Regions from separate parts of the Homo sapiens genome. Here all the other regions are linked to region 1. Evidence: promoter capture Hi-C in 16 types of primary human blood cells and fetal thymus (Javierre and others, 2016). All regions are on one chromosome and are shown on one strand. Each heading gives the region's core, a stretch centred on a gene start or on the middle of the fragment in contact. The rest is flanking DNA. Distances are from core to core; before and after follow the strand shown. Region 1 holds the start of RBM38 (RNA binding motif protein 38). Region 2 overlaps ZNF831 (zinc finger protein 831). Region 3 has its middle 15 kb from the start of ZNF831. Region 4 has its middle 42 kb from the start of ZNF831. Region 5 holds the start of PRELID3B (PRELI domain containing 3B). Region 6 holds the start of CTSZ (cathepsin Z). Region 7 overlaps LOC107985410 (a long non-coding RNA gene).

Region 1 (2,562 bases), core at 28-2,527:
CCCGGTCGGCCATGGTCACCTGGTGGAGCAGAGACACATCAGGGGCTGCCGTGGGGGGAACCAGGGGCGAAAGGGGCAGACGGCTCCGCCCTGGCACCGGATGCTGCCACCCCTCTCTTCCCTTCCTCTGAGGGTGCCTGTGACCCAGGGTCCTTGAGCCAAAGCTCCTCTGAACCCTACCTGGGGCTCTCCCACAAAGATGCCTCCTGGATTCCAGCTCCTCCCGTCAAAGTTCAAGGCCTGGGAAATGTGGCCTTCAAGGACAAAAATAATCCCCTGCGGGGATAGGGCAAAAATGAACCCCGAAGGGAGCTTGGGGGGCCGCCTGGACTTGCCCACCAGTGAGGGCCGAGACTTTCCTCTGAGAAGGAGTTTGCGACGCTATGCTTGGAAGGTAAGCAGGAAAGTGTCTTCAAGACGTTTTTACTTAAGCTGATGTTTATTTGGGGCGGCTGAGAGGGCTGTTAAAAATATGGGGGAGGCCGAAGAGCTCCTAACACCCCGGGGTGGAGCCATTGCTCCTCACCCCCCGCTGCTCCAGGAAATCCCGAGTGCCCTCTGGCTCCAAAACCTCCCCACCAACTTAGGAGTCCTAATTGAACACAGCGGCTCTTCCTTTTAAACCGGGGGTGGGGGTGGGGGTGGGGGTGGGGGTGGGGGCCGGGGCCTGGGGTGGTGGGGGCGGGACCGGCAGGAGCGCGCCCGGGAGAGGCGGCAGGTGCGGGCGCCGGCTGGAGGCGCCTGGGGCGGGGGCGGCAGCGGGCCGTCTGGGCGTGTGCCCCGGAGTGGACTCGGCGCCCGGGCCGCGATAAGGTGTGCGGCGGGGTGCGGGCCCGGGCGCGGGGGCCACTTACGAAGCCGTAGCCGCGGGACTTGCCCGTCTGGCGGTCGGTGATGACCACGGCCTCCTCGATGTCGCCGAAGCCCTCGAAGTACTTCCTGAGCGAGGCGTCGGTAGTGTGGTACGGCAGGCCGCCCACGAAGATCTTGGTGAACGTGGTGTCCTTCTGCGAGCCGTGCATGGCGCCGGGGGCGGCCAGGGGCCGCGGGAAGCCCGCGCTCGGGGCGCACGGCGCGGGCTGCAGCAGCATGGGGGGCGCCCCGCCGCCTACGGACCCGGGCCGCGCGGGGCTGCGCTCATGGGGGGCGGCGGGGAGCGCGCGGGGCAGCGAGGGGCGCCCGTCCAGCCGCCAGGCCCGACCACTCCGGCGCCCGTCCCGCCGTGCGCGCCGACGTGCGCCGCGCTGCGCTCCCGACCGGCGCTGCGGGGACTCTGCGCCCCGGCACCGCCCCCGGGCTTTGTAGCCTGCCGCCCCCGCCAGCTCAGCCCCGCCCCCAGCCGGCCCCGCCCCGCCCCGGGCGCGCGGGGACCGCCGGGAAGCGTAGTTCTAACCCCGCCCAGCCGCACCCGGGCGCGCGGCGATTGGGGGGAGGGGGGAGGGGAGCGCACGCGGGCTGAGGGCGGATCCGGGCCTGGGGGCGCTGGGCGCGCCTTTCTCTCCTGGCTGCCCCCGCGGGCCCGGCCGGTTGCAGGCACTAAGCACAACCCTGAACTAGGGAGGCCAGGCCCCTTCCCTCGTGGAGCGCACCGTCTGGTGAATTAAACGTAAAAAACGTAAAAAAACGTAAACGGTTTTTAGCATCTTGTTAATTGAGTCGGTATTTAACCCAGGGCGACTTAGGGAAGAGCCACGTGCCATATTAAAAAAGGGAAATGATTTCTGTTTTATATGTAAGATTAGTTCATCCGACCGATATTTACTCTGGGCGCGAGGCTGCAGCGGAGCACAGATCATATTCCCTGGCCCCACGGAGCGTCCAGGACTGAGAATTCGGCTAGTAAACATACAGCATACGACCCCGGAGGGAGCTACACCACGGTGCCGCGATAGAAGCGGGTCCCGGGCGGTCTCAGAGGCCCCGCGGGAGATGAGGTGGGCAGAGGAAGCAGGTGTGGGCTCTTTCCAGCTCCACCCCGTTCTGGGCTGGTGTCAGGGACCCTTGGGGCGAGTAAGAGCAGACCCGGGTCCCTCATCCGGCCCCCAGCCATAGAAAGGCGGCGCATAGTGGGGCTCTGTGAGCTTCACACCAGGCAGGGCCAGCCACAGAATTTTCGGGGCCCAGTGCAAAATGCAAACGCGGGGCCCCTTATTCAAAAGCTAGGAATTTCAAGTTGGCAGCGGTTGAGCATGAAACTCAGCCCCGGGCTTTCCTGAGCGAAGGGAAGGGCCGTGTGACTGCACAGACCCCGGGATCCCGGACCTGCGGGTCACACCCTCCACCTCTGAAGCCGGGACTAGGGGCCTCAAGCCCGCCTCATCTCCAGCCCCCGCGGTTGGGACCTATGCAGCTGGGAAACAGCAGCTCTAATTGGGGTCACTCCCGGCCCCAGCCCTGCGGCCTCCTCTCAGCACAGGGCGACGCAGGTGGGGTCTGTGGGGACTGGGAGTGGCACTCCGTGGGCTGTGGGGGACCGCAAGGCCGGCGAGGAGTTCCCCTCGTTTCCTCCAGCACCGAGGAGTTCTCCGCGTTTCCTCCAGCCCTCTGCCCTGGCTGCCGGCG
Region 2 (2,562 bases), core at 42-2,541, 1.8 Mb before region 1:
ATGTTGCTGAAAATCAAACAAAAAAATTAATGGTGCAAGTTACTGAATTAAAATGGCAGTTGAATTCACAGTCATGCCAAGCTTCTCATGTGAAAATTTGGGCACTAATCAGGAAAAAAGGGGATCCTAAAACTCGAGGTGAGGACATCTTGTTGGACCTAGAGAAACTGACAACATTGACCTCCAGGTCATTCTGAGCCTCCCGTACAAGTGGCAGCAGCTTCCCCTCCACTGTCCACAGAGGCCAGACTTCCTGAGCTGGAAAACCTTATGATGCCTTCACTTAGGGTAGATGCCTTGAAAGGGAATACTGATCCTTCTCAGAACCCACCACAACAAGCCCCTGCTCCCTCTAGACTTAACTAGATTTAACTGAGTCAAATCTCAGCATGGCCCAAGGAGACAGGTGCTCACTATGACCCAGAAGGAAATGGCTCACACACCAGAAGAGCTGAACGCCCTGGCTAATATGTCAGCAGAATCCTAGGGAACATGTGTGTGCAAATGGATTCTGTGGGTTTATACCAAGGAGGGCAGAAAACACCACCAGCCATTGGACCAAATTCATTGACAGGAGTGCACTTACCAGAGAGTCTCAATTTAGTGTATTAGTTGTGCAGCTGGATGTGGCTTTAACAGCTTCCTAGGTTGGTTGACTGAAATCTGGAAATGATGGTGACCTGCATTTAGTGAGGCCGGAATGCTGGAGCTTCCCTGGCATGACACAGAGGAGGGGCTCTAAAGACTATGGGAAATATGCCTGCTGGGCCGGGTGTATCACAGGCAACCTCCAACTCTCCCAGCGGCATGCCTCAAGAAGACCCAGAAGGCCCCTCTTCAGGAGGGCGCTGAGAAATGCATTAATGAGGGGAGCATCCGCATCCCCGAAAAGATCTGTGGTTGCTCTTTTTCCAGGCCAGGAAGAGCTGTAGGGGACACCACTATTGAGACAGGCTCCCTCATTTCACTGTGGTTGTTGGGGGGTCCCAGAATAGCAGAGGACCAAGTGGCATCACTTCATTGCCAAAGAGAAGGTGAGCGTGCCACGGGAGCAACAGGGAATGGCAGGAATCCGAATTCTTTGGCTCGCAGAGATCTTAGCAGTAACTAACTGATCACGTTGTCCCTCGGAGGGAAAGACCAGTCAGTCTACTATGATATCATAGGAAATCATAGGAAAAGTCCTAAGTGTGGTGGCAAGTAACGTGACTCAGTCATCAAATGGAGACTCACGGCCCTTTACCCAGTTTTCAGAACTAAGGCAGTTTGCAGACCTACAGGCCCTTGATTGAAGGGAAAGCCAGGTCCCCTTGAAAAGGACACTCTACTATTGCCAAAAGGATACACTGTAAATCTTTCTTTATGCCTTCTCAAAGGGACCTGTTGCCACATAGTGGAACAACTGCAATTTGGGAGAAAAGTACATACTCATACTTTTCAGGAGTTAGTAGATATTCCAAGAGGTAAAGAACCCAGGGCAGCTGAGGTCAAGGAAGATGTGGAATGGGTGGTGGAAGAAGAAAGTCACAGATATGAACTACAACTTCATGATCAATTATATAAACGAGGACTGGAGGGGGTTTGTGTATGGTCTCTATGTGTGTTATATGAATGAGTTTTATTTTATCTTTACTAATCATTCTCTACTTCTTTCTCCTACTTCATGTTTTAAATTTTTATATATGAGTTATTGGAAGTTAACTTTACAATTTAGGCTTTAGGGAACAGAATATTCAGTGAGAGCTTGACTGAATTTGAAGAGCAATTGATACAGCCTGTGCTGAGTACAATGACTGCATCTGCTCATTTCGAACAAGTGAGAACCTCTTCACTTGCTAGAAGCATGGATGTATCTTGTTAGGTGGAAATACAGAGCCATTCTGTTGTAAGAAAGTTCACATGCATGTAAAGGGTACACATGGGGCTGCACAGGCAAAGGGATAGACTGTGCCAGATAGAAATTTATTGCCTCTCAGCTCCAAAAAATGCCATTCAATACATGCTGTATGATAAGGGATGCAAACTTTTAAAGATTTTCTCCTTTAAAGTGGACACAGTGCTAAGTTTTTCCAACAGAGGATGTTGGAGGGTCATTGCAGGAGGAAGAGGCTTCCTGCAGTTTCCAGGAGGGGCCCACGAGAGGGCCAGTGGTGTGGGTATGAGGACATGCCATGGAGTTCCCCCTCCCAGCCACAGGCCCCAGGACTCACTCCCTCTGCAACCTTGCAGCCTCAGCCCAGCAGTAATCTGTCTGCAGCCCCCACAACATAAAAACCAAAGCTGTTGCACAGCCTGCCTGTGGCTGGGGGGTTCACATGGATCTGCTCCTTCTGCAACCACACAGCCGGCACACTGTCTTTCTGGGAGCTCTGGAGACTTCTGTCCCACTAGTGCCAGACTCCCATAACACACCCACGTCTCTGGTTGTAGATTGCCTGCCACCTCCCACCTGTACTCCAGAAAGTTGCCCATTGTTTGCCCAGCAACTCCAGATAAGCTTCAGTCTTGCTAAGCCAGCCAACTCCTCTGCTATCCAGTGGGCAAATCACATCTCTTCCAGGG
Region 3 (2,562 bases), core at 47-2,546, 1.8 Mb before region 1:
GCCAAGCCCAGGCTTTTGGCGCTCACTCAGGAGGGAACCCTTTTCCTTCACGATTTTTTTTGGAGGAGGGAGATCTTATTTTATAGTAAGATCAATAGATATATTATGGAGTATAAGGTTAAAGTTTTATATCTTTAAGATACAATGCAAAAAGTAAAATGAAATGTATAAGACTCCGTTTCTTCCTCCATAAAATGGTATTGGGGAAGGCGCCAACCACATGGGGCCATTACAGAGATTAGACAAAGAGACATAAGCAAAGCCCTTCTTTGGCACAGCCCCAGGCCACAGTCACATCTTCTTTAATTGGAAGTTTGCCATTGAGACTGGGCCCAAGGATTAACATCCCTTCATCTCGTCTGGCTTATCAGACCTCCACACACAGAAAGAAATTGCAAAGCAGCAAAGGGAGTCTAGGTTTTGAGCACCAGAGGAAGCTGGTTAATCTTCAGTTGATTTTCTGATGGCACCTCTGGTCTGATCTCAAACAGAGGATGGGGTCTGAGAGCCCTTACCTTGTCTGACCCATCAAGATGGGCACCCATCCTATTCATCTGTGGCCACAGACACGGCCAGCCTGGAAGGGATGGAGACCCTCGTTACCAATGGAGACACCATCCCCTGGCTCTGCCCCTCACAGCCTCTGGCCAGGGCTGAACTCGAGTGCCCGCAGCCCAGAACGCTGCAACTGCACCTGCTCTCCAAGGCACAAGATGCTCTGGGGAAGGATGTGGTAAGCTGTGTCCAAGGTGCAGGGGTGTTGTGGTCAGGAGGGCAGAACTCACACCAGGTATGTGGGTCTGAGGTAGGAGGCTGCAGGACCTCTGAATCTCCTGGCTGGGTGACAGGATGGAATTGAGCCTCAAGACATGAGACCCAGAGTCAGCACCCTGCTTGCTCTCACGCTCTGTTCTTTTTTTTTTTTTTTTTTTTTTTTTTTTTTTTTTTTTTTTTTTTTGAGACGGAGTTTCGCTCTGTCGCCCAGGCTGGAGTGCAGTGGCGCGATCTCGACTCACTGCAAGCTCCACCTCCCGGGTTCACGCCATTCTCCTGCCTCAGCCTCCCGTGTAGCTGGGACTACAGGCGCGCGCCACCATGCCCGGCTAATTTTTGTATTTTTAGTAGAGACGGGGTTTCACCGTGTTAGCCAGGATGGTCTCGATCTCCTGACCTCGTGATCTGCCCGTCTCGGCCTCCCAAAGTGCTGGGATTACAGGCGTGAGCCACCGCGCCCGGCCGCTCTGTTCTAACCCATCTTCAGAACATCAGAAATGTAGCAGTGGTGATGCTTCCCAAGGACTGAACAGGGACTTTGCCACTGGTCCTCAGAGCTCATGTGCACCCCTTGGATATCCCCCCTCAACAGAGAGGCCAGCCCCATTCCATCATGGAAACCCTCCCAGCCTACTCTGATGAGATTGTCCGTGTCCCTGTCTTGGATGGGCCGACCACAAATGACTTAGGAACTAAACGAAGACTATGCATTGGCCTTGACCAACGGCACTTAACAATTAGCGTCAATGGCCCCATCAGGCTCTAGGTTAGTAGGAGAACATTCTCAAGCATTTCAGAGAGTATAAGGGACGTCTCTTCTAATTAGGGTCCATGATGTAGTCATACTTTCTTATTGATCTAATAATTGGTGCAAATGTACAAAAACAGCTGTCCCAACAGTGTGCTGCCACGTGGCCTTGGGTTTTTCATTCTGGCCTGTAATCCCCCCTTTTACCACCTCAGAAAGCAAGGCTTCATGCGTACAATCATGCCTGCATTTCAGCTGCTCTTCAGATTTACAGCCTCGCCTCTGAAATATGAACAGGTTTTTTGGAGATAATTAGTCTCACACACAACTTCAGCCAACATCTGATCAACCCCAGTCATATCATTAGTTCTTGCTAACATATTACACTTTGCCTAAACTATATTGGAAGATGTTCTCCAGTTATGATATCTGATTAGTCAAAATCAGCCTTGTTTGGAGATGAGGGGGGCCTCATTCTTCCTTGTGGTAGGAGAGCTGCCCTCAAAGCCTTTTCTTTAAATTCTAAGCCATGATCCAACATCTTTGCCTTTTCCCAATTTCAGCTTGTACAGCCTTTCCTTTTAAAAAACAAAGTATAACAATTGCAATTCTCCCTTGGCCACTGGCCAGACATCCAAGGGCCAGAGTGAGGAGATTAACGGATACACCCAGAGGGGACAAGGTCAGAGAGCAGAACATTCTGGACACATGTTTGTGTCAGAGACCAGACCCCAAAGGACTGGAGAGCTCCCATTAAGAAGGGCTGGTACCTCCAGCTAGAGTGACACGCGAGGGCCCTTCAGAGCCTGTGCATGGAACATGCCTGTGACATTAATTAATGCCAGGCAAAATGTAACAGCAGATCTTGGAAACTAAAAATAGATCTTTACTAACTGATTCATCCCCTGACTGCACAGAATTTGGAGCTTTTTGTCTGCTTCTCTTCTACATGTACATTACATTACGGCCTCTTTTCCCCCTTTTCTCCATCTTTGTTGTTCTTCCTTTTTCCTCTCCTTCTTGGTGAAAGGTCTAAACCT
Region 4 (2,562 bases), core at 37-2,536, 1.7 Mb before region 1:
CATCTGAAATGTGCCTCTGAATATGCAAGTGGGTATTTGCCCATCATTTATTTGCTATGCATAAGATTTCCACGCACGGCTGACGATTTTCTCTCATAAACAGATGCCCCAAACTTCCTTTCTCTCTCTCCCTTAAACCCAACATCTGGGCCATCTACGTGGATGCGCCATTCTATGGGGGTAGCCACATGGGGGTGGGAAGGAGATGCAGTCGAGAGAGCTGAGCTTTAGCCCTAGAACGGCCGGAAACTTCCCAGGGACTTTGGGCAGATCGTCAAACCTCCCCGGGGTTCAATTTCCTCCCTGACAAAGTGAAAAAAAAAAAAATGAAGCTAGTGTTGCCCCACCTGCCTGCCCAGCCAAGCTGTAGGGAAGAGGAAATAGAAAATGCAATGGCTTTGAAAATTAGAAACTGTGACATCCAATTGTATGATACAGAAAATGACACAGGGCATCTGAAAATGGACCACCAAGCCTCCCGAGGGAGATTCTGGATCCAGTTGAGCCTCCTTGGTACTACTTCAATGAGTCTGAAGAGTAGAGGCAGAGTGACATGATCATAGTAGAAAGAATAACACGCAATTTATTGCAAGCTCATTGCAGGTTAGACACTGTGTAAGTGCTTCTCATGCATTAGTTCACTGAGTTCTCACCACCCTCTGAGGCTGACATTAGTGAGATCCTCATCTTACAGAAAGAGTTTACGAGGTCAGCTGGTTTGCAGAATGTCACACAGCTAGTAAATGGTGTCACTAGGACTTGTACTCAGGTCTGTCTGACTCCGGGCCCTGAATGCTTACCCACTAGACTAGACTAAAATCCTAATGGCACATTAGACTGACTGCGAGCAGCCCTCTTCCCTCTCAGGACCTCAGCTTCCCTCCCAGCTGATGGAGAGGATGAGTAAGGGACTCGATGCTGTTCAGACCCCTTCCAGCTTGAGCAAACTCTCATTCTTGGAATGAAGCTTGGCTGAGAGCAAATTGTGAACTCTTGAAGGAGGCACTTAGTGACAGTGCCGCATGCTGCTCCCTGGCTGTGAGACTTTTCTCCTGCTGTGGAGATGGGCCATGAAAAGAGAAGGGCTTCCTGTTGTTCACTTTATAGCTCCCCATTCAGGCAGTGCTTCTTCTAACAGACTCTCAAACTGCATGGAGGCAAGTTGTTGTTTTGCTGGGAGAAGGGAAGCTTCTTTAGGCTAATTTCCCCCTCCTCCTGATTCTTCCTGTTCTTTGTAGTCTTTTGCTTTACCAGACTCGGATTTGCAAACCTGTTGTCAAGGCAACACTAGGTTTCTCTCTTTGCACTCTAATGTCTCAATGGGGGTATCCATGGCAACAAGAATACCTTGCGCTTTCAAAGTCAGTGACCTTCCAAAGCTTCCTGGGATGTGTGGAGTTAAATTATGTTTAGACAATTTTTTACCACAGCTACCAATTTAGTACCTAATAAGCCTAACTGATGACGTCTGTAACAGTTAGCTTTTGCTGTGTAACAAATAACCCCAGAAGTTAGTGGCTTAATCTGAAAAGTATTTATCATTGCTGTAGAGGTCAGCTGGGTGGTTCTTCTGGTCTCAGCTGGGCTTGCTCATGCTCACCTGACTGAGCTCCATCACGTGTTTGGGGGGCATCTGGCTGTAGGCTGGATCAGGAGGGACTCATCCAGGACAATCGGGCTCTCCTCCACATGGTCCCCATTCTTCACTAAGCTATACCAGGCTTTTCCACACAGAGGCAGTAGGCTGCTGAGGCAGGGACAAGGGAGGGAGAGTGTGAGCAGACAGAAGCCACAAGGGCGCTTGAGGCCTGGGCTTGGGACAAGCTCAGCATCTCTTCCACCATATTCCATTGGCCAAAGCAAGCCCCAAGCCAGGCTAGATTCAAGGGGTAAAGAAGTGGACCTCACTTCTTGATGGGGGTGGGGAGGATGGCAGAAAGGTCACATTGCAAAGAGAATGAGAGAGGAGGGATGGAGAATCGTGGCCATTTTTACAAACAATCTATCACATCATCCTTCCACATTTGTTGTGGAAATATTCAGGCACTACATACATGTGAATGGAGCCTCAACAGCCAATAAGCAATCTTAGCAGAGATGACATGGAACCCTCAGAATTCTCAAACCTCTCCCTGCTCCCTCTGGAAAGTGCTCTTCCTCCTCGGGATGACGCAGGTGTGAGCTGTAGCACAGCTTCCGTCTATGCATGTTGGTCAGTCCACCTGAACCTCACAGATTGAGAATACCATGGGTCCCCAGGGGAAAAGAGAGATGCTGTCACCAGAAAAAGGGACACTGAGTGCTAGACATCCAAAAACAACAGATGACTCTGTAGTCCTCCCCCAGCCACCACTCGCCGAGAAGCAAAAATCCACAGTGCATCAGCAGTCACTTCTTTAGCATGAGGAATGGAGTGATTTCTTATCAGGTGAAACCTCTTCCAACTGTGAACTCCTGGAAAATTTCAGGATTTGATCAAAACTATTTCTAAAAACAAAACCTGGAACTTTCAGCTGTCCTGATCCTAGACCAGGAAAGCAGGAGCAGCTTTCCACTTTGCTG
Region 5 (2,562 bases), core at 29-2,528, 1.7 Mb before region 1:
GTAGGTAAGAGTTAATGTCTGCATTCTCATCCCAGACACGGAGCTCGGCAAGATCCCAACAGGAGATCCCAGCAGGAAGGGTGTGGAGATGTGTGTCATCCCTGGGGCAAGGGCCATAACTACCAGTCACCTAGTTAATTTCAAATCAAAGTAATGATCTGTTGTTAATGACTTCTCTGTTTCTGTGAGAGGCACTGTCAAGTAATGCAGTGCTTAGGTATCTAAAAACCATTAATTTGCTTCCTCTGTGTCTCCTAACAGAGTCTCCAGGAGATAATCATTATGTAAGTCTTACCCTCCAAATCCAAGCAAGAGGTGGTATTATTTCTACCATGAGGAGACACGCAGAGAAGACAATTGGGTCCTGGATCTCCATCTTTCCATGCCCCATCCCACCACTCTAGATCTAGTAAGTAAAATTAGACTGATATAGTATGTGTGTTGGGGGCACGGGAGATAGGTGTCATTTAATTTTCATGACTAAAACACAGAAATTTTGAACTTGAGAGCAGAATAATGTTCTCTAAAATAAACAGAACAGGAATGCTGAATGGTGAACAGCCTCATGGAACTCCAGGAATAGCAGGGACAGGCTGTTCTGTGCTGATGGTTCTTGAACCAGTGTTTTTAACACCCAGCGACGTTAACTGCATCTTAGTCAAGGCTGAGGTACTCTCAGTAGCCCTTAAAGCATTACCTCCCCAAGAAATCACTCTTAAGTACTGTAGGTTTAAAAAAAGAAAATCTCAGGTACCACAAATTGCACTTAGCAACTACCCAACCATATTATTTCCTTCCTGTCTAATGTAATTTTTGTTTTCCTGTATAAAGGACTTATGTTATTTTGAAAAATTATCCTCCCTCCTAAATTAACCTGGCTTTTTGTCTTTAACAATCAAACAAGCTAAGAACAAGAATGAGGTGGTCCTTCTAACAAGCTTCTAAGTAACTAGATGTAAAGATTTTCCTCCATAACCTTCATTGAAAATGGCAAATTGTTCTGTTAGGAGGTAGACGGCTGTGGAGAGTGCAGGAGAGCAGGGTGGGAAGCCATATTCTGAAAGCTAAGCCAGGCAGTCTGTTCCCTGGACAAGGCTCATCTCTGAATGAAACCACATGCCACCTCCTCCTGCCCCAGCAATTCTTAGTCATTCTTTCATCCATTGATGCAACAAATAATTGTCATTTAGGAAGGGGGAAATCACTGAACAAGTCTGGCAAGAGCCTCGCCCTCAGGGGCTTACAGTCTAGCGGAAGTTACAACAAATAAACTAGATGACTCCATTAATTCATTCATCCCACAAATAGCTATTGATTTTTTTCATTTTTCAATAAGTAGTCATTGAGCCTTGACTATATGGGAGACACTGAGGATGATTTTTGAGCAAGACCGGCAAGATTCTTGCCTTCAAGAACTCAGTTCGATTGTGAATTTTCACAAATAAATTAACAAGATGATGTCAGAGGGGTAAGTGCTATAAAAAATGCAACAGGATATTGTGACGGAGCAGAGCAACAAGGTGAGAAACGGTGACGAGGGAAGTCTCTCTGGGAGAGACATCTCAGCTCAGATCCATCCTATGCACCTAGGGCAAGGTGTGCCCGGCCAGGAAGCTTTTCTACCCGACCCCTGGCACCGTGCTTCCGGACCGCATCCCTCGTAGGGGTATTATTCATGGGCAGGTCTGATGTTAGCTTCTCCGCGTCACGCCTTATTTATCCCCTCCGAGGGCTGCAAGCTCCTGGCGGGCAGGTGGGACTGGCCCAGCTGATCGGCTGGGTGGCTGGTGGATTTGGGAAAACAGCCCGGGCTGACCCAGGAGGTGGCTGGAACTCTCTATAGGGCACCAGGAAATTTTGCACAAGTGACCACCACAACGAACATCTATGTCAGCAGGCTGACCGCATGCGTCCACACGCCTCGAAATGCCAGGCGAGGATGTGCTGGGCCAGAAGGACAAGGAGGGCCAAGCGGGCGCGCAGGCACCTCCTGGACCTGACCCAACTCTGCCCAGAGGTCAAGGCTCGCTACAAGCCCGCCGCGCCTGCGCAGCACAGCGCCCGCGCCGGCCCCTCCAGCTGCCGTCGGCGGCACTGCGCCGGCGCGATGCGCCCGGCGCTAAGAGGCGGGGTTTCCTTGCGCCGCGCGCAAGGCTGGGGCAAAACCCGGGCCGGGATAGGGCGTGGGGCCGCGCGTCTGGACGTCCCTCGCGTCGGGCCCGACAGCGCCTGCGCACTGCGCCGCCGGCTGGGGTGCTGGGGGCGGGGCAGGGGCAGGTGTAGCCTCTGTGCCTCGTTGTCCCCTGGCGCTACCCGGACATCTCTCAGGGTGCCGGCACCATGAAGATCTGGACTTCGGAGCACGTCTTTGAGTAAGTTTGGGGCGCGGGTCGGCTCCGTGGAGGGCAGGCACGCCGGCCCTGGAGTAGAGGCGAGGCAGAGGCGGCCCGCAGGAGGCTTCTAGGCGTCGGGCCTAGCGAGGGGAGCGAACTCTGAAGCCTGCGGGCCCCGGCGACACGGAGGGCAGACCAAGGTCACGACCCCGAGGCGCCCTAGCCGAGG
Region 6 (2,562 bases), core at 31-2,530, 1.6 Mb before region 1:
CGATATTGCTCCATTGCACTCCAGCCCAGGTGACAGAGCGAGACTCTGTCTCCAAAAAAAAAAAAAGAAAAGAAAAAGTAAATGATGATTTCAAATGGATAGGCTCCCTCCCTCTCTTCCTGCCCTATTCCATCAGATTCTGATCTTGAATTGCTTCTATGTTAGGGAAACCCAGGGGGCACAAGTTGTCAACTTTGGACGTCCTTTTTGTTACCAGCCTAAAAATATCCTTCCCTTTAACCAACTTTCAATAGGGTAAATCCGGAGAGTCTCCTCTTTGGAACTCCCCAGATAAATTAAGCTTTGTGCCAGCATTTGGGAGCAGGACTGTGAATGTTTATTCCCCTTCCTGACCATCTCACCCCTCCTCCTGACCCCTGTTTGTGAGTTTGATTTGCCAGAGGCTCTGGGCTGAAAGCGGGTGATGTACAGGACTTGTGATGGAGCAGGTGTGGTTGCTGTCATCAGACCCAGCTACATAATTTGCAGGGCCCAGGGCACAGTGAACCTGGAGAGCCCCTCGTTCAGCTCTGCATTACACTTCTGGACTTAGGGCCTCATGTGACTGCAGGGGTCGTGTGCCTGCCTTGCTGACCATGCCTGTCATACCTTCTACATGCGCTGGACCTGCTCGGAGAGTCTCGGGGCATCTTCAGAGCACCCCAGCTCTCCCCATGCTACAGGAAAGAAAAGCTTACACCTTGGGTGCCTTTTCACCCAGATTCAGGGACCAGGGCCCAGGACATCACAGCTCAGGCATCAGAGGCCAAGCACAAGGGGCCCTCCCCTCTCCAGGCTTGTTTCTCATGCTGTAGAATGTGCTGTTGGACTTCACAGTACCTGGATCATAACTATGGGTACCTGGAGGGAGGGGCACGATATCTCTTACCACACAATTTTGTGAGTTCTTAGCTTTTTCTTTAGAAGAAGCCAAAAACCGGCCGCTTTGGTAGATGCCACCTGATGACCTGGCAAGGGCAGCTGTGTCTGGGTTTCTTCCTCACAAGGACCCAGCTCCTATAGTCAGGGAGGCCAGAGGGTTGACATGGGAGGAAGAAAGGCCCCCTCTTGGCAATTCTCTTTCCACTCCTTTTATGCCCAGAGGTTGGGAGGCCTCGCTCCCACCCCCACCGCCAGCTCAAGCTTGGGGACTTCTCCCAGGATGGCCACCCCACCCCGCCTTCTGATGACTGATGGACACTAATGGTTTCCATGAGCGACTTGCCAAACAAATAAGAGACACATCAGTAGGTAGAGCCCCGGGGCCACACTTTGCCTCAGTGACCACTTTTTGGGGAACAAGGACTGAAACTTCTGGGCTGACGAAGCAGCTCTCCAGCCTTGCTCTCCACTCGGACAGTCATGCGGGGATTCCATGGCCACCTCAGCGCTTCCGGGAATGGTCATGGAAGCTTCTGGAAGTCAGGAGGCAGCCACTGTGACTTCCCCTTGCCCACGTGGCACGCTTGGAATGTGGTGAGTGCCACTGAGTATGGAGAGAGTCAGGCAAGCTCATCTGTGGGCCCTGTGCCAAGGGCCCCCAGCAGGGGCCTGTCAGGTCGCAGCCCAGAATGCCGGGCCCTGTTCTTACCAGAGAAGAAGGCCATGGTGTGGGCCCAAGGGCCATGACAAACAGAGGGGCCGCAGGGAGCGAGAAGCCCTCCCCCAGTTACAAAACCACGTCCTGGGGGGCCACTTCTGCTTTTGGTTCCTCATTTGACTAAGAAGAGTTTCGTTAGCAGAAAACCTTTTCAAGGCGTCTTTGGAAGTCACATTGGATAACTCCTGATGCCTGCGCCAAGTGGAATCTTCCTTTGGGGCATTTTCTAGAAGGATCCCTCCTTCCTTCTCTGCAAAAGGGAACCGTCCCCCCGAAAGGGCCTGGGCCTTTGGGAAAAGGGGTTTAGAAAGCCAGGCGCGGGGACCCTTCTTTGGGGGCGGTGGCCGCATCCCAGGATCCCTTCCTAGGGGAGGCCTGGGCCCAGATGTGAGGCTGGGGGCCTCTCCCCAGGGCTCAGGGCCCCAGGAATGCAGGGCCAAGGGGGCCCATGAGCCTGCGGCCCCCCACCCCGAAGCCAGGAACCCCGGCAAATGAGTCCAGCCGGACAGTCCCGCGCTCAGGGCGGCGGCCGGCGGCGGGGTCAGGCTGGGGTCTGCCCGGCGACCTCGCGCCTGGCCCGCGAGTTCAGGTGCCCCGGAGCCAGGGAGGGAGCGGGGCGCGGAGCCGGGCGGGGAGGGCAGGGGTCACCGGGCGGGGCAGGAGCAGCGATGGGACAGCCCCGCCCCGGGGGAGTGTCCCGGCCTGGCCGCCGCAGCCTTAAGGGCCGGGCGGGGCAGGGGCCCAAAGTGCGGGGTCGGCCGGGTGCTGGGCCGAGGCCGAGGCCGGGGCGGGATCCAGAGCGGGAGCCGGCGCGGGATCTGGGACTCGGAGCGGGATCCGGAGCGGGACCCAGGAGCCGGCGCGGGGCCATGGCGAGGCGCGGGCCAGGGTGGCGGCCGCTTCTGCTGCTCGTGCTGCTGGCGGGCGCGGCGCAGGGCGGCCTCTACTTCCGCCGGGGACAG
Region 7 (2,562 bases), core at 33-2,532, 1.3 Mb before region 1:
TCATTGTGACTCATTCTTGGCCTGGGCTAGGATTCGGTAATACTCCTCGGGCTTGGTGAGGCTCCGTGTCCTGTTTCTTGGGCTTCATACCCACTTTCTAACATTCTGCCAACGAATCCAATAAGTCACTTTTGGGGACAAGTGTTTCATTGTTTTCTTGTCATCTCATTCAGTGCAGGAGGAAGCCCCATTGAAGCCAGGCCATGGCTTGGGCAGGTGCAGGTTTTCAAGTACTGAGAGGGGATGGTTAGCTCAACAGGTCAGCAGTGGGACACACACCCTTTGGTGAAAACAATTTAAATGAGATAGGGCTCATGTAAGCCCTTATACAACCTCAGCATAGAGTAAGTGCGCCACAAATGGGCAATATGATTTATTACAGCAGTAGTCTTACTGTTGGAAAGCTCACGTGGGCTCTGCTCTCCCTGGAAGGCATCATAAACTCCAAAGAGAATGGCATGGTATTGAGAACTGAACACTTGGAAATCTAAGCACGTTTCCGAGCTTCTTGTTCTGGACCTTGGGAATCCAGATGTGTCTGCAGTGCACACTCATGTGGAAGAGGGGGCTAAACCATCTCAAAGACACCTTTTAACATTGGTCTTTCTCCCACCTATAGAAAGACAGATGGTTGTTTGCTTATCAAGCAGCAAAAGCCCCCAGGCCTAACATATGTCTCGTCTGCACAGATCTGACAGACAGATTCGGGCCAGGTTCGGGTAACAGGAGTTGTGTGTTCTGTGTCCCCAAATAGTTCCTCAAAACCTTGAGTATTTCCAACAACAGAAAACTCCCTATCTGGGTCTGTCTTCAGCTATGATGCCTCTCCCAAGAAGGGAGACTCTGGAGAGAGGCAACACTTTTGTTTTGTCTGGAGTCCCGTAGCTTTTAATACCAGACAATTCAATACAGTAGGCATTTCTAAAAATCTACCAGTGGCTGTGCCTATCTCTTGCCAGGCACTGCTGAAAGAATGAAACAGCAAAACTCTTGCCTTCAGGGAATTTGCATCTCCACTGTCTCTACCCAAATTCTGGTTCTCATCGTGTACATTTTCCCAGCAGCCTGCTAACAACCACCCGTCTCTTCCCTCCTCATCCTGCAGCCACAGTGACCTTTCCAAAGCATAAATCTGATCATGTCACTGCCTGATTGAGGCCCTGAAACAGCTCCCTCTGGCCCATGCCAGCCGATCTCAAATGACGCTCAGCAGAAAACAGGTGCTCTAAGTTGAACCAAGCTGGGCATCACTAATATTAACTAATGATGGACTTTTCTTGGTTGTCAGAAAAAAAAAAATGAAGCTAATTAATGGAGTAGTCTCCATCTTAAGTGTTTCTCTTCTCGCTTTCTCTTAAACCTTCAGTCCCTGCCACCACTTGGCTGTATTAGAATATAGTATAAGACTAGATCTGATTTATTCCAGAATCATGGATTTCAGTACAATTTTTTTCCCATAGATCAGTATTTCCTGGAGTTCTGCATTTAGGTTTTCTACACTTTCCACATGGCGGAGTGCCCCCTGGGCATTCAAAGCCCTGCCCAACAGGCCCCACCTAAATGGTGAGCTTTTTTCTTTCCAGGACTTGGCTCACAGGCCTTTCTCTGCCTGGTGGGGGTAGTGGCGGGGGATGTGTCTTGCCCCTTCTGCTTGGTGAACCCTTCATTGAAGACAGCACCCCCTACACTGTCAGGTGTGATAAATGTTTGCGGAATGGATGACTGGATGGATTAATGCACAAAAGGTGAGATTAACTATATTAAGTGCTAGAGAATACCAGACAGTCAAGACTCAAAATGGGTGGAGAGATTAGGGCAGTTCTCTGTCCCCCTCGCTCACCCCTTTTCAGCCACACTAGCCTTCCCACCATTCCTCACACCTCCTTAGCACCTGCTTTGCTCTCCTTCCTAGGTTCTTCAAATAACTGGCTCCTTCTCACCACTCTTGTCTCAGACTATTCAATAGAAAGTAATCCTCCTACCCTGTCCACCGTGTGGGGAGAGGACTCTCCTCTCCCAGGGCCCTTATGTCACCATCATACCAGGTGCCTGCCCATGCTTGGTCAAGTTCAAGACTGAAACAATGTCTAACATCGTGGCTTTTGGTCTTTGAGGCCAAGAAGAGGCCTCTTGGGTCACAACACATGCCAGCAAAGCATATCTGCATTTTACTTTTTTTCCAGGATGATGTGGACACATGTGTACTCAAATAAATCAACCCTCCCATCTTAACCATCTCCCTTGGCAGGAACAATAAGTTAATGTGCCAAGCCAGGACTGACCTGGATGACTCAAACCCTGAAAAACATAAAGGAAATCATTGTGTTTTTCCGCTAGCAGGTATTGAAACATAGCCAACTCACTCGTTTCTAGTTTTTTTTCCCATGGCCATGACCACTGACCTGCTCGTGGTAATTTGTGTGATGTGCAAGTGCAGGGCTGGACTCCAGCCTTCTCCAGATGCTGCCTGTGCAACCAGCAGCCCCTTATTAGCTATGTGGCCATGCATGGCTCAAGACTCCTTTGGTCACAAGGGACAGAACCCAAATCAAATGGACTTAA

The links. The method cuts DNA at HindIII sites, captures the fragments that hold promoters and counts their contacts. A CHiCAGO score of 5 or more calls a contact.
Region 2: a fragment that was not itself captured here is called in contact with the fragment with the promoter of RBM38 in region 1 in 2 of 17 cell types (naive CD8 T cells and non-activated CD4 T cells); the score reaches 5.2 in naive CD8 T cells.
Region 3: a fragment that was not itself captured here is called in contact with the fragment with the promoter of RBM38 in region 1 in 2 of 17 cell types (naive CD8 T cells and non-activated CD4 T cells); the score reaches 8.3 in naive CD8 T cells.
Region 4: a fragment that was not itself captured here is called in contact with the fragment with the promoter of RBM38 in region 1 in 7 of 17 cell types (total B cells, total CD8 T cells, naive CD4 T cells and 4 more); the score reaches 12.3 in total B cells.
Region 5: a contact is called between a fragment that was not itself captured here and the fragment with the promoter of RBM38 in region 1, in 3 of 17 cell types (total CD8 T cells, fetal thymus and naive CD4 T cells). The highest score is 5.7, in total CD8 T cells.
Region 6: a fragment that was not itself captured here is called in contact with the fragment with the promoter of RBM38 in region 1 in 1 of 17 cell types (total B cells); the score reaches 5.7 in total B cells.
Region 7: a fragment that was not itself captured here is called in contact with the fragment with the promoter of RBM38 in region 1 in 3 of 17 cell types (fetal thymus, naive CD4 T cells and activated CD4 T cells); the score reaches 7.5 in fetal thymus.

What each region holds. Positions count from the first base shown.
Region 1 is chr20:57,390,111-57,392,672 of GRCh38, reverse strand. RBM38 (RNA binding motif protein 38) reads right to left here and starts at 1,277. Exons shown (of 4, transcript NM_017495.6): 1 at 855-1,277; 2 at 1-19. The coding sequence starts at 1,091. RBM38-AS1 (RBM38 antisense RNA 1) reads left to right here. Exons shown (of 2, transcript NR_149006.1): 1 at 1-394. RefSeq lists silencers at 655-844, 1,195-1,594 and enhancers at 559-1,058, 1,059-1,560. The HindIII fragment of the contact is 15,883 bases long and covers 1-2,562 here.
Region 2 is chr20:59,170,778-59,173,339 of GRCh38, reverse strand. The region is part of intron 1 of ZNF831 (zinc finger protein 831); the gene reads right to left. Among named protein-coding and RNA genes, the nearest start is that of ZNF831, 8.2 kb to the right of the region's middle. The HindIII fragment of the contact is 2,416 bases long and covers 84-2,499 here.
Region 3 is chr20:59,147,076-59,149,637 of GRCh38, reverse strand. It overlaps a transcript of ZNF831 not described here. Among named protein-coding and RNA genes, the nearest start is that of ZNF831, 15 kb to the left of the region's middle. The HindIII fragment of the contact is 8,698 bases long and covers 1-2,562 here.
Region 4 is chr20:59,120,831-59,123,392 of GRCh38, reverse strand. It overlaps a transcript of ZNF831 not described here. Among named protein-coding and RNA genes, the nearest start is that of ZNF831, 42 kb to the left of the region's middle. RefSeq lists an enhancer at 817-1,366. The HindIII fragment of the contact is 191 bases long and covers 1,191-1,381 here.
Region 5 is chr20:59,042,509-59,045,070 of GRCh38, reverse strand. It overlaps PRELID3B (PRELI domain containing 3B), which reads left to right and starts at 2,285. Exons shown (of 6, transcript NM_016045.3): 1 at 2,285-2,372. The coding sequence starts at 2,341. SLMO2-ATP5E (SLMO2-ATP5E readthrough) reads left to right here and starts at 2,225. Exons shown (of 6, transcript NR_037930.1): 1 at 2,225-2,372. RefSeq lists a silencer at 1,968-2,367. The HindIII fragment of the contact is 676 bases long and covers 941-1,616 here.
Region 6 is chr20:59,007,036-59,009,597 of GRCh38, reverse strand. CTSZ (cathepsin Z) reads left to right here and starts at 2,344. Exons shown (of 6, transcript NM_001336.4): 1 at 2,344-2,562. The coding sequence starts at 2,470. RefSeq lists enhancers at 1,091-1,170, 1,311-1,420, 1,441-1,600, 2,281-2,562 and a silencer at 2,061-2,562. The HindIII fragment of the contact is 269 bases long and covers 1,146-1,414 here.
Region 7 is chr20:58,645,460-58,648,021 of GRCh38, reverse strand. All of the region lies in intron 1 of LOC107985410 (a long non-coding RNA gene), which reads left to right. Among named protein-coding and RNA genes, the nearest start is that of STX16-NPEPL1, 4.5 kb to the left of the region's middle. RefSeq lists a silencer at 235-529. The HindIII fragment of the contact is 2,566 bases long and covers 1-2,562 here.